Linked DNA regions of Homo sapiens: region 1 is linked to region 2. The links are contacts of gene promoters, found by promoter capture Hi-C in human tissues and cell types (Jung and others, 2019). All regions are on one chromosome and are shown on one strand. The core of a region is centred on a gene start or on the middle of the fragment in contact, and the rest is flanking DNA. Distances in the headings are between cores, read along the strand shown. Region 1 overlaps TPTEP2-CSNK1E (TPTEP2-CSNK1E readthrough). Region 2 holds the start of MAFF (MAF bZIP transcription factor F).

The links. The method cuts DNA at HindIII sites, captures the fragments that hold promoters and counts their contacts. A contact is called where the count stands out against the background at its distance.
Region 1: a contact is called between a fragment that was not itself captured here and the fragment with the promoter of MAFF in region 2, in 4 of the 25 tissues and cell types used here (adrenal gland, hippocampus, mesenchymal stem cells and 1 more).

What each region holds. Positions count from the first base shown.
Region 1 is chr22:38,337,083-38,340,171 of GRCh38, forward strand. All of the region lies in intron 4 of TPTEP2-CSNK1E (TPTEP2-CSNK1E readthrough), which reads right to left. Among named protein-coding and RNA genes, the nearest start is that of CSNK1E, 21 kb to the left of the region's middle. The HindIII fragment of the contact is 6,830 bases long and covers 1-3,089 here.
Region 2 is chr22:38,200,140-38,203,332 of GRCh38, forward strand. It overlaps MAFF (MAF bZIP transcription factor F), which reads left to right and starts at 1,855. Exons shown (of 3, transcript NM_012323.4): 1 at 1,855-2,073. RefSeq lists silencers at 1,682-2,011, 2,072-2,511. The HindIII fragment of the contact is 8,533 bases long and covers 1-3,193 here.

The DNA of each region.
Region 1 (3,089 bases), core at 489-2,988, 140 kb after region 2:
GCTCACTGCAGCCTCGAACTCCTGGGCTCAAGCCATCTGCCCACCTCAGTCTCCTGAGTAGCTGGGACTACAGGCGAGCACCACACCTTTCTAATTTTTCCATCTTTTGTAGAGATGGGGTCTCTGGCCAGGCGTGGTGGCTCATGCCTGTAATTCCAGCACTCTGGGAGGCAGAGGTGGGTGGATCACTTGAGGTCAGGAGTTCAAGACCAGCCTGACCAACATGGTGAAACCTCGTGTGTTCTAAAAATACAAAAATTAGCTGGGTGTGGTGGTGCATGCCTGTAGTCCCAGCTACTTGGGAGACTGAGGCAGGAGGATAGCTTGAACCTGGGAGGGGGAGGTGGCAGTGAGCAGAGAACGCACCACAGCACTCCGGCCTGGCAACAGAGTGAGATCCTGTCTCAAAAAAAAAAAAAAGGTGGGGTCTCACTATGTTTCCCAGGCTAGTCTTGAACTCCTGGGCTCAAGTGATGAACCTACCTCAGCCTCCCAAAGTGCTAGAGTTAGAGGCGTGAGCCACTGCACCCAGGCATTGTGGAGTTCTTTATAATGGGGAGGGTTGGGGCTGGTCTAAGTGTCCAGAGAAGGGGGTTCTTTAACAGAGCAAACACACGATAGAATATTATGCAAGCATTAAGTTATGTTTACAAACAGCTTATAATAATATGAGGAAATATGTTATAATATGAAGAGAATAAAAGCAGGATGTCAATGTGTGGTGACAGCAGGGTCACAGCTATACTTAAAAGCAAAACAATTTATGCACAAGGAAGAGTCTGGAAGGAAAATGTTCACTACGATTATTTCTGGGTGGTGGCACTATGAGGCTTCTTTATTATCCTTCTGTTTTCCTGCTTTTTCAACATCTAATAAGCTTATATCACTTTTATAAAGTTTCTTCATTTCTTTTTTTTTAATTAAAAAAAATTTTTTTTTGATACGGAGTCTTGCTCTGTTGCCCAGGCTGGAGTGCAATGGTGCAATTTCGGCTCACTGCAACCTCTGCCTCCCAGGTTCAAGCGATTCTCCTGCCTCAGCCTCCCGAGTAGCTGGGACTATAGGTGCCCGCCACCACACCCAGCTAGTTTTTTGTATTTTTGGTAGAGACAGGTTTTCACCATGTTAGCCAGGATGGTCTCGATCTCCTGACCTCGTGATCCACCTGCCTTGGCCTCCCAAAGTGCTGGGATTACAGGCGTGAGCCATCACATACGACCTAATTTTTGTATTTTTAGTCAAGGCGGGGTTTCACCACATTGGCCAGGCTGGTCTCGAACTCCTGAACTCAGATGATCCGCCTGCCTTGGCCTCTCAAAGTGCAGGGATTACAGACGTGAGCCGCTACGCCCAGCTAAGTTTCTTCATTCCTTAAAAAGTTCCCAGTTTCAGGGCACGGTGGCTCACACCTGTAATCCCAGCACTTTGGGACGCCAAGGCAGGTGGATCACTTGAGGTCAGGACTTTGAGACCAGCCTGGCCAACATGGTGAAACCCCATCTCTACTAAAAATACAAAAATTAGCCAGGCAGGGCGGCACACATCTGTAATCCCAGCTACTCAGGAGGCTGAGGCAGGAGAATTGCTTGAACCCATGAGGCGGAGGTTGCAGTGAGCTGATATCACACCATTGCATTCTAGCCTGAGTGACAACAGCAAAACTCCATCTAAAAAATAAAAATAAATAAAAACGTAAAAATAAAAACACAAAAATTAGCCAAGCATGATGCCGGGCACCTGTAATCCCAGCTACTCAGGAAACTGGGGCAGGAGAATGGCTTGAGCCCAGGAGGCGGAGGCTGCAGTGAGCTGAGATCACGCCACTGCACTTCAGCCTGGGTGACAGAGCAAGACTCAAGAAAAAAAAAAAGTTCCCATTAGTTGAGCACCTACTATAATCTAGGATAAGCCTCTTTCATGTAATCCTTGCCATAGTCCTGGGGTAGGAATTCTTATTTGTTCATGTTACAGATGAGGAAAGGAGGGTCTGAGAGGTTGATTCCCAAAGTCACATGTGTAGAAAGGGCCAGAGGCCTTTCTGTTCTAAGCCCAACAGGGCCTCTTAGGCAAACTCCTGGTTAGCCACCAGGCTAAAAGGCTACCAGCCCCCACTGGGCTAAAGGGAGTCAAGGAGCAGAGTTTGTTTACCCTTGGGCAACAGCTTCAAAAAAAGGCAGTGTGGAAGGAAACCACAGAGTGTGAGGGGCAGGAGTCTCACCCTGCCTTCTTCCTGAGGGGGAGCCCCTTCCTCCCACCCAGGGGGCTTTGAGGCTGGCAGTGCCAACCCAGAAAGGACCCAGGGAGGACAGAGCTTCCCAGAGTTCAAGCTGCAAGACTGAGAGGTCAGCTATCAGGCCCATCCACCAATAATGTAATATATATATTATACATAATATATATATTACATATAAATATATAATATATAAAAGTATATATAATTTATACATTGTATAAAATATATAATTTATATATTGTATAAATTATATATTTTATACAATGTATAAAGTATATATTTTATACAATATATAAAATATATAATTTATACAATATATAAAATATATAATTTATACAATATATAAAATATATAATTTATACAATATATAAAATATATAATTTATACAATATATAAAATATATAATTTATACAATATATAAAATATATAATTTATACAATATATAAAATATATAATTTATACAATATATAAAATATATAATTTATACAATATATAAAATATATAATTTATACAATATATAAAATATATATTTTATACAATATGTAAAATATATAATTTATACAATATATAAAATATATATTTTATACAATATATAAAATATATATTTTATATATAGCCGGGCACAATGGCTCAAGCCTGTAATTCCAGCACTTTGGGAAGCCAAGACGGGCAGATCACCTGAGGTTCTGGAGTTTGAGATCAATCTGGCCAACATGGTGAAACCCTGTCTCTACGAAAAATACAAAAATTAGATGGACATGGTGGCAGGAGCCTGTAATCCCAGCTACTCAGGAGGCTGAGGCAGGAGAATCACTTGAAACAGGGAGGCAGAGGTTGCAGTGAGCCGAGATTGCGC
Region 2 (3,193 bases), core at 605-3,104:
CAATTCCAGTGCTTGTACTTCCTAGCTGAGTGAATTTAGAAAGTCACCTTCACCTCTCTGAGCCTCCAGTCATGTATTCCTTCAACATGTATTTACTGTGGGCCTACTATGTGCCAAGCACTACTCCAGGCACTGGGCAGGCAGTGGTGAACAAGATAAGCCTGGCCAGGCGCAGTGGCTCATGTCTGCAATCCCAACACTTTGGGAGGCCGAGGTGGGTGGCCTGAGGTCAGGGGTTCAAAACCAGCCTGGCTGGGCATGGTGACTCACCTGTAGTCCAGCTACTGGGGGGCTGAATTCCTTGAACCTGGGAGGCGGAGGTTGCAGTGAGCCAAGATTATGCCACTGCACTCCAGCCTGGGCAACAGAGTGAGACTCTGTCTCAAAAAAAAAAAAAGAAAAAGAAAAAGAAGCAAGGCCTGCCTTCATAAAACATACATTCTGGTTGGGGAAGACAGACAATAACCAGCACTCACATACATAAATGATGAAACACCCTACAGAAGTATTAAGATAATATAAGAACAAATTTCAAGGCTGGGTGCGGTGGCTTGCGCCTGTAATCCCATTACTTTGGGAGGCCAGCGTGGGTGGATTGCCTGAGTCCAGGAGTTTGAGACCAGTTTGGGCAACATGGCAAAACCCTGTCTCTACAAAAAAAAAAAAAAAAAAAAAAAAAAAAAAATACAAAAAATGAACCTAGCATGGTGGTGTGTGCTTATGGTCCCAGCTACTTGGGAGGCTAAGGTGGGAGAATGGCTGGAGTCCAGGAGAAGGAGGTTGCAGTGAGCCGAGATTGTGCCACTGCACTCCAGCCTGGGTGACAGAGTGAGACCCTGTCTCGAAAAAAAAAAAAAAATTCAGAGGTGAAGACTGCTTTAACCAGGGTGGTCAGGAAATGTCTCTCTGAGGCAGTGACATCCGGGCTGACGTGAAAGATGAGAAAGAGTCAGGCAAGTGAACAGAAGACCAGACAGCCAGTGCCAAGGGCCTGTCGCAGGAATGAGCTTGGTATGTTTGGGGGACAGAAAGAAGGGCACTGTGGCCGAAGAGCAGTGGATGAGGAGAGAGTGGCCAAAGAAGGTGTGTAAACAACCTGAGCTTTGTTTTGAGAAGAACATTGGCTGGTATAGAAAGAAAGACTTTGGAGGCAAAGTAGGGAGCCTCGGAGGCTGCTGCCATTGTCCGGGTAAGCTGATGGTGCCGAGACCAGGTGCCATGACTGGAGGTGGTGAGAAATGGTCCTATGCAGGAGACCTGGAGACACCGCTAGCTTGAGTCCTGAGGTGGGGAGGAAGGGAGAGGGAGGGATGGAGCCAGGCTCCAAGGTTTTGGCTTGAGCAGCTGAGATGGGGTGGCAAGGGAGCAGAGGTAGGGCTGACGATCAGGAGCGGGTTTTTGGGCCGAGTCCTCTGCAGTGCCCATCTGACACCCACTGGATGCGCAGAGTGGGCAGCTGGCTATGAGTCTGGAACTCAGAGAAGCTGTTCGCTCCGGAAATACAAACCTGGGGCTCATAGCCATATAAATGTCATTTAAAGCCACGGGACTGGATGAGATCATTAAGGCAGAAGGTCTAGGTCGAAAGAAGAGGGCCAGGACCACTACCTGTAAAATGAGCCAATGACACCTACACCCACGGGGCTCTCGCGAGGTGTCACGTGAACGCACCCAGCGAGCCCTGGAACCAGGCAGAGAATCGCGGCAGCCCCGGGGGCGGGGCTTCCAGGGGGCGGGGTCATACGGGGGCGGGGCCGAGGGACCAAGCGGCCGCTCCTGGCCGGAGGGCGGCCGGGTCGGTGACGTCACCGCATGACTGGGTTTTTATGAATGAAAGGAATCCTGTGAGTGAGTAATTCCGGGAAGCTCGCCTTACAACTCCGCGCGGCCTCGGCCCCCTGCGCCGCCCGCCCCACAACAAAACTCAGCGCAGCGCTCCCGGGCGCCCGGTTCAGAGCGACCTGCGGCTCAGAGCGGAGGGGAGACTGACCGGAGCGCGGATCGGGACAGCGGCCGGGACAGCGGCGAGACGCGCGTGTGTGAGCGCGCCGGACCAAGCGGGCCCAGAAGCGGGTGAGGAACGCGGGACCAGGAGGACGGTGCGCGGGACCCCAAGGCGGCAGGGTTTCTGCGTCCCGGGATGCGCCTGGGGTGGGCGCCCGGGCCCGATCCGTCGGGGCTCCCGGAGCTCCATCGCCCGGACGGCTCGGGGCGGGGAGAAGGGAGCGGCCGTCCCGGGGACGCCGAGGACGGGGCCGAGGCCAGCTCGGGGGAGTGGGGGTGGAGACGGGGCCCCTTCCCGGGGCGCGGGCGGGTAGGCGGCGGCGCCGGGAGGAAGGGGCAGCGCAGGCCGGCGATCTCCGCGTCCGCCCGGCGGGGGCGGGGGCGCTGTGCTCCTACGTGACTCGGTGGGAACAGGCCCTGGCCCGGCGCCCGCGGGCGGTGCGTGCGCGGTTTGTTTACGTCCGAGGGCGGGCGTGTGTTCCCTGGCGGGCGGCCTGGGTATCCTGCCCGGTGCGTGCGTGCGCTGTGTACCTCGGGGGCGTGTGTGCGTGTGTTGTGCTTGTGTGTGCGTGTCCGCGCGCGCGCTCCCTGGGGCCTGTACACCAGCAGTGTGTACCTCGGAGAGGGCGTGCCCTGGGCCGGCCACCGGAGTAAACGCGGAACAAGGACCCGAGCGAAGGAAGCGGACCCGTGCGTCTTCGCACGGGGTCTGGGAATTCTGGCCCGGGCCGCCCCAGTCCTACTACCCGGGGCTGTCCGTCCCCGGCTCTCCCCGGAGTTTCCCAGGGCCTCCGCCACGTGACCCCAGTGTTTGTCTCCCGCCCAGAGCCCGCGCCCGCAGCCACAGGGTGGGGCAAGGTATCAAAGACCCCACCCAGCTGAGCTAGGAGTGAGGGATGTGAGCCACCCCCGCTTGGCACCCCGGTGGATCTGGTAACAAAGTGAGTTGGAGCCCAGGTTCTTGTCCCCAGATTTTGGGGCTTCCTGGGGAGGGAAGAACCAAGGGACTCTCGTTCGTCCCCAGGGTTGCCCATCCCCTCAGTCCCATGAGAACAGGAAGGGCCAGAAAACCTTGACTGCAAGGGTGCGGCGCAGGGAGAGGACCACAGGCTTTTAGCTAGTCCGGGTTCTGGAGGCTGTACCTGCTAGGTCGTGGAGGATGGGGCGGAGCCGGTTTCCGCTCTCCTGG